2 separate regions of the Homo sapiens genome follow, and region 1 is linked to region 2. Evidence: promoter capture Hi-C in 16 types of primary human blood cells and fetal thymus (Javierre and others, 2016). All regions are on one chromosome and are shown on one strand. Each heading gives the region's core, a stretch centred on a gene start or on the middle of the fragment in contact. The rest is flanking DNA. Distances are from core to core; before and after follow the strand shown. Region 1 overlaps LOC105376299 (a long non-coding RNA gene). Region 2 holds the start of NUP214 (nucleoporin 214).

Region 1 (3,675 bases), core at 729-3,228, 200 kb before region 2:
TTCTCAGGAGGGGACCCCCTCCCTGCACTGCTGGGGTGAGGGTAGGTGGGGACAGGGACAACTGGTTCTTAGGAAGCCAAGAGAGCTCGTGTTTGCTCCCAGGAGCCTGGATGTGGCTGGTGAAGGTGGCTGGGGGTTTAGCCAGAGGCTGGAGGATTCTTCTGGGGAGGGTCTCAAAGCACCTTCCCCCGTGTGGCCTGCTCTCCCCAGGCTCAGCCAGCACCTGCCACGGGGGAGGACTCCAGCTGGTGAAAGAATAAACGAGCCAGAATGCAGGCCTGAAGGCTCAGGCTTTCTTTTTTTTTTTTGAGATGGAATCTCGCTCGTCACCAGGCTGGAGTGAAGTGGTGTGATCTCGGCTCACTGCAACCTCCGCCTCCCGGGTTCAAGCGATTCTCCTGCCTCAGCCTTCCGAGTAGCTGGGACTACAGGCGCGCACCACCATGCTTGGCTAATTTTTGTATTTTTAGTAGAGACAGGGTTTCACCATGTTGGCCAGGATGGTCTCGATCTCCTGACCTCGTGATCCACCCGCCTCGGCCTCCCAAAGTGCTGAGATTACAGGTGTGAGCCACTACTCAGCCTGGGTTTTCTTATTTTGTAGAAAATCCATTTCCCTCGTGCAATACTTGATGAGTCAGGCTTGATAGTGGGTGGTTGAGGATTTGGAGACACAAATCAGGTGGCTGGGTTGGATGTTGGAAAAGTCAGTAAGCTTTGCTGAGTCTCAATTTTCTCATCCTTAATGATAGATATTGGAAGCTCTTTCTTCATGTGGCAGTGTGTGTCAAGGGCTTAGTATAGAGCTGGCCCTGGTGGGTACTGCTGAAACTCTCTCTGTGGGCCACATACACGCACACGCACACACACACACAGTCACACTCACACATACACACACTTAGCACTAATTAAACAGCAGGTGGCCAGGCATGGTGCCTCATGCCTGTAATCCCAGCACTTTGGGAGGCCGAGGTGGGCGGATTGCTTGAGCTCAGGAGTTCGAGACCTTCCCTGAAAACCCCATCTCTACCAAAAATACAAAAAATTAGCCAGGCACGGTGGCGCATGTCTGTGGTCCCAGCTACTCTGGAGGCTGAGGTTGGAGGATCACTTGAGCTCAGGAGATGGAGGTTGCAGTGAGCCGAGATTGCATCATTGCACTCCAGCCTGGGTGACACAGTGAGACCCTATCTCAATAAATAAGTAAATGAATAAACAGCAGGCATAGCCAGTCTCTTTACATGGATAAGCACACTCAATCCTCATCAGCACTCTGAGAACAAGATACAGTTGTTATTCCCATGGTACAGATGAAGAAACCGAGGCTTAGATGAATGAAATCACTTGTCTAGGGTCACACCAGCCTAAGCAGAAGAACAGGGTTGGATCCCAGGCTGTTTGACCTCAACATGTGCATTCTTGGTGCCACATTTTCATGCCTTCAAATGGATTCATGAACCACTCATGGCCAAGGCAAGATGCAAAGAGCAGCCTGTGCCATGCCCTCCAAGGTCCCCCTGATCACAGAGGAGCTTGCCAGACCCTGTGTAGACTCCACTTCCCTTTGCACAAACCCTCGAGCCTGGAGCCTTGTCTTTCCAGCCGTTGGTAAACCAGAAGCAGCAGACGGGGAAGGTGGTGCCGGCTCAGCCCAGCGAGGCACGCAGAGGCCACAGCACCACATACTTCTGAGGGTCTGGGAGCAAGGCTGGTGCAGGGAGGCTTTTGAGGGGGACCGGGAGGACTCTAGAAACAAAGCCAGCCACGCCCCTCAGCTTGGGGGGAAACAGCTCCCGACACATCACCAGCCCCTAAGGTGTCACAGCAGAGTCACCCAACAGTGAGAAGCCTGGGAAACAGCGGAGGGGCACCGGCTTTGAGTTGCACATGAGTGGCTCAGATTTCAGTGCTTCAGGGGCCTCAGCTTTTGAGTCATGACTGTGGGAGCCCTGAGGGACACACCTGCTCCCTCCACCTGACCCGGGATGAGCATATTTTTTGAAGCATTGTTGGTCTTACGGAAAGGAGAGTTCATGGAAACGGCCCCCTCCCCAATTCAAACAGGAGATAAATCAAGAAATGTGAGCCGCTCCACAGTGGCTGAAGAAGAAAGCGTGGGTGGTCAGGTGCTGGGCACAGAGGTGGGATCTGGGCCCAGGGCAGTGGCCAACCAAAGGTCCTGAGAGGAGGAAACTGGTCTGGCCTGGCAGGTATCAGTGGGCTGGGAGGTCAGAGGCCAGGTTCCCACAGCAACACCGCCACAGGCGTGGTGGGCATGGTGGCGTGCGTCTGTGATCCCAGCTACTCAAGAGGCTGAGGTGGGAGAATCACCTGAGCCCCAGAAGTCGAGGCTGCAGTGAGCTGAGATTGTGCCACTGCACTCCAGCCTGGGTGACAGAGCGAGACCCTGTCTCAAAACAAAAACCAAAAAACTGGCTGGGTACTGTGGCTCACGCCTGTAATCCCAGCACTTTGGGAGGCTGAGGCAGGTGAACTGCTTGAGCTGACGAGTTTGAGACCAGCCTGGGCAACATGGCAAAATGCCGTCTCTACAAAAATTGCAAAAATTAGCTGGGTGTGGTGGTGCATGCCTGTAGTCCCAGCTACGTGGGAGGCAAGACGGGAGGATTGCTTGAGCCCAGGAGGCAGAAATTGCAGTGAGCTGTGTCATGCCACTGCACTCCAGCCTAAGTGACAGAACTAGACCTTGTCTCAAAACAAAAACCAAAAAACTGGTTGGGCATGGGGGCTCATGCCTGTAATCCCAGCACTTTGGGAGGCTGAGGCGGGTGAATTGCTTGAGCTCACAAGTTCGAGACCAGCCTGGGCAACATGGCAAAACGCTGTCTCTACAAAAATTGCAAAAGTTAGCTGGGTGTGGTGGCGCATGCCTGTAGTCCCAGCTACGCGGGAGGCAAGATGGGAGGATTGCTTGAGCCCAGGAGGCAGAAGTTGTAGTGAGCTGTGTCACGCCACTGCACTCCAGCCTGAGTGGCAGAACTAGACCCTGTCTCAAACAAAACAAAACAAACAAAAAACCCAAAAATTAGCCAGGCATGGTGGTGCATGCCTGTCGTCCCAGGCACAGAGGGGACTGAAGTGGGAGGTGGAGGCTGCAGTGAGCTGTGATTGCACCATCGCACTCCAGCCTGGGTGGCAGACTGAGACCCTGTCTGTAAATCAATAAGTAAGAGATTCAGAGACTGGGTAGGAAAAAAAAATTCCAGATTGATGAAGCTTAAAAGAGATCTGCACACACACAAAAAGAGAGCTCACCAAAAATTTAAGGATCCAAAAAGGTTAAAAATAATTTTCAGAGACATAGTTTCACCATGTTGCCCAGGCTGCTCTCCAACTCCTGAGTTTAAGTGATCTGCCCGTTTAACCTCCCAAAATGCTGGGATTACAGGCGTGAGTTACCACGCCTAGCCTATCTATCTATCTATCTATCTATCTATCTATCTATCTATTATATATATATATAAAAAGATATAAAGATATATTTTGATATGAGGCAAAGTTGTCTTATACTTTAAAAGCATTATCAATAATAGAAAGGGTGGGGCCAGGCATGGTGGTTCACACCAAGTAATCCCAGCACTTTGGGATGCTGAGGTGGGAGGTCTGCTTGAGGCCAGGAGTTTGAGACCAGCCTGGGCAACACAGTGAAACTCC
Region 2 (3,244 bases), core at 206-2,705:
TAATAGTCTTCTCTGCATGATCCCAATTTTATATGTGCTGCCAAAGGGAGTGCGAGATTACCATCTTCTAAGTCTGTGGTTCTATTAATAAAACCTTTTTTTCTTCTACCCCAGCATATCTGAGGAATATGACACAACCCCATTAGGTGGCTCACCACAGGTGGTGATTCTCAAAAAATAATCACTATTCTAGGACAGCACGGTAGCTCACGCCTATAATCCCAGCACTTTGGGAGCCAGAGGAGGGCGGATCACGTTAGGTCAGGAGTTCGAGACCAGCCTGGCCAACATCGTGAAACCCAGTCTCTACCAAATGATATAAAAAATTAGTGGGGCGTGGTGGCAGGCGCCTGTAATACCAGCTACTAGGGAGGTTGAAGCAGGAGAATCGCTTGAGCCGGGGAGGTGGAGGTTGCAGGGAGCCGAGATCATGCCACTGCACTCCAGCTTGGGTGACAGAGCAAGACTCTGTCTCAAAAAAAAAAAAAAATCACTATTCTAAACATGGTATTACTATGCCCTAAATGCATTTTAGTGATTTATTGTTCACACAGATGCCTAAAATCTTCCTGCAACTTACTTCTTTTCACTATTTAAAACAGATGTAGCCCGTCTGTTGTACCCTCATTCTGTCAGAACCCATATAAGAACTATTAAACACACCATCCTGAAGTTATCCCTGGGGGACTCCCACGTTGCTATCACTGGGACCACTTGGCCCTCCCTTTAGGTTCCTGACTTTAGGCTGATATACCGAGGTCAAAATAGTCTTCCTAGTCCAATCAACTAAAGGTTCTGCAGGATGGATGACCTTCCCTGACTCTACGTTAGGCAAGCCCGTATCACCTTACAGAAGTACTGGGAGAGCAAAGGTCTTAAATGATGCTGGCTTTCAGCCCCGCGTCAAATGTGACTTTAGGGAAATTACTTTCCGAGCCTCAACTTACTCCTCTACGTTAACGACTACTTCGTAGGGCTGCCGCGATGACTACCACAGTGCCTGGCACACAGTCAACACTCAATAAACAGCAGTTATTGCCACTATTGTGACCGCCCCAGGAAGTAGCTAGGGTAACTCAACAGCCGTGCACGAGACCAGGATGGGACTGGGAAACTGCATTCGGTGGGGCTATCACGCCAGCGGCGCGGCAGACGCGCTGGTGAGAGCTGTGAACGCGGTAAACTGTTCAAGCAGGAGGCGGGACAGCCAGCACCGCGCTTCGCCTTTCAGCTGGGCTCCAAGGCAACGCCAGGACTAAAGAAGGGAGGGAGGCCCCGGTTAGTCTCTGACCTTCATCTCCCGCTCGGGAATCATGGCATCCATCTCGTCTCCCATCGCGCCGCCCTCAGTGTGTCGAAGCAGCCAACGCTGCCTCCCACGGCCTTGCCCACGGAACCCAGGCCGCTCGACAGCAAACTTCCTCCCCTCAGCGCCAGCGGCGCGCAGTTGACCTCGCATTTCCGGCGCGCTTTGGTGACGTCAAGCTTGGTCAGAGGAAGCCGCGGAACCTAGCGAAGCCGCGCGTTCTTCCGGCCGCCGCTCCCCATTGGCCAGCTCGGGCTGAGTAGTGGCGTGGCCGTGAGGTCCCTGCGCCTGCGCCCTGGATGGTCCTGGTGCCGCTCCCGCCTTCGCAGCCAGCGCGGGCTTACCTAGTGTTAAGTCTCTCTTCTTGGGTGGCCCACGCCTAAGCGACCTATGCTTCTTGTTCTTCTGAAATCTTACAGTTCCCCTTAGATGTAGGTTGGCTATTGGTAGCTTCCGATTCAGATAAGTTTGGAACTTGACAGATGTTTTCGGGGGGCTGCTTTAGAGAGAGGCTTTGGACTATGCAAGGGGAGGAAGGGAGGTTCAGAAAAACGGGGTCGGGGGGTCGGCAGGGACGACTCTTAAAGTGTGGAAGGTGGAAGGCTGGGAGGGGAGATTAAAGGGCACCGAAGACCAGCTTTGTTTGCTCCTATCAAGGTGATCCTTTCCAGAGCAAGAGCCATATCCATGTCTAGTCGCACGAGTTTGTGCCAAGTCCTTTGCAAAAACCTTCAGATGTGGGATCTCATGTAATCTTGAAGACATCTTAGTCGTCCTAGGGGTTATTTATTTAATTGATGAGACGCGGGTGGCTCATGCCTATAATCCCAGCACTTGGGAGGCGGAGACAGGAGGATTGCTTGAGACCAGGAGTTTGAGACCAGCCTCGGCAACATGGCGAGACCCCGTCTCTATAAAAAACAAAACAAAACCACAAAAATTAGCCAGCAGTGATGGCATGCGTATGTAGTCTCAGCTACTCGGGAGGCTGAGGTGGGAGAATTGCCTGAGCCCAGGAGGTTGAGGCTACAGGGAGCTGTGATTGCACCATTGCACTCCAGCCTGGGTGACAGAGCCAGGCCCTGTCTCAAAAAGTAAATAAAAGGCCGGGCGCGGTGGCTCACGCCTGTAATCCCAGCACTTTGCGAGGCCGAGGCGGGCGGATCACGAGGTCAGGAGATGGAGACCATCCTGGCTAACACGGTGAAACCCCGACTCTACTAAAAATACAAAAAATTAGCCGGGCGCGGTGGCGGGCACCTGTAGTCCCAGCTACTCGGGAGGCTGAGGCAGGAGAATGGCGTGAACCCGGGAGGCGGAGGTTGCAGTGAGCAGAGACAGCGCCACTGCAGTCTGGCCTGGGCGAAAGAGCGAGACTCCGTCTCAAAAAAAAAAAAAAAAAAAAAGTAAATAAAAATAGGCTGGGAGCAGTGGCTCACGCCTGTAACCACAGTACTTTGGGAGGCCGAGGTGGGTGGAACACCTGAGGTCAGGAGCTCGAGACCAGCCTGGCCAACATGGTGAAACCCCGTCTCTGCTAAAAATACAACAATTAGCCGGGTGTGGTGGCGGACGCCTGTGTTCCCAGCTATACAGGAGGCTGAGGCAGGAGAATCGCATGAACACAAAAGGTGGAGGTTGCAGTGAGCTAAGATTGTGCCACTGCACTCCAGCCTGGGTGACAGAGTGAGACTCTGTCTCAGAAAAAAAAAAAAAAAAAAAAAAAAATATATATATATATATATATATACACACACACACACACATATATATATACACACACACACATATATATATATATACACACACACACATACACATACATAATAATAATTGATGAGGTAAGGGAGGCACAGAGAAGTTGAGAAAATTCTCCAATAGCCCTCAGTCAGAAAGTGGTGGTGACAGGATTAGAATTGAGATCGTCTGGATAAGGCT

Evidence for each region. The method cuts DNA at HindIII sites, captures the fragments that hold promoters and counts their contacts. A CHiCAGO score of 5 or more calls a contact.
Region 1: a fragment that was not itself captured here is called in contact with the fragment with the promoter of NUP214 in region 2 in 1 of 17 cell types (endothelial precursors); the score reaches 7.0 in endothelial precursors.

Annotation. Positions count from the first base shown.
Region 1 is chr9:131,327,559-131,331,233 of GRCh38, reverse strand. The region is part of intron 1 of LOC105376299 (a long non-coding RNA gene); the gene reads right to left. Among named protein-coding and RNA genes, the nearest start is that of PLPP7, 40 kb to the right of the region's middle. RefSeq lists an enhancer at 153-1,107. The HindIII fragment of the contact is 2,522 bases long and covers 718-3,239 here.
Region 2 is chr9:131,123,797-131,127,040 of GRCh38, reverse strand. NUP214 (nucleoporin 214) reads right to left here and starts at 1,455. Exons shown (of 36, transcript NM_005085.4): 1 at 1,292-1,455. The coding sequence starts at 1,336. It also overlaps the pseudogene RNU6-881P. RefSeq lists an enhancer at 1,257-1,556. The HindIII fragment of the contact is 3,004 bases long and covers 1-1,487 here.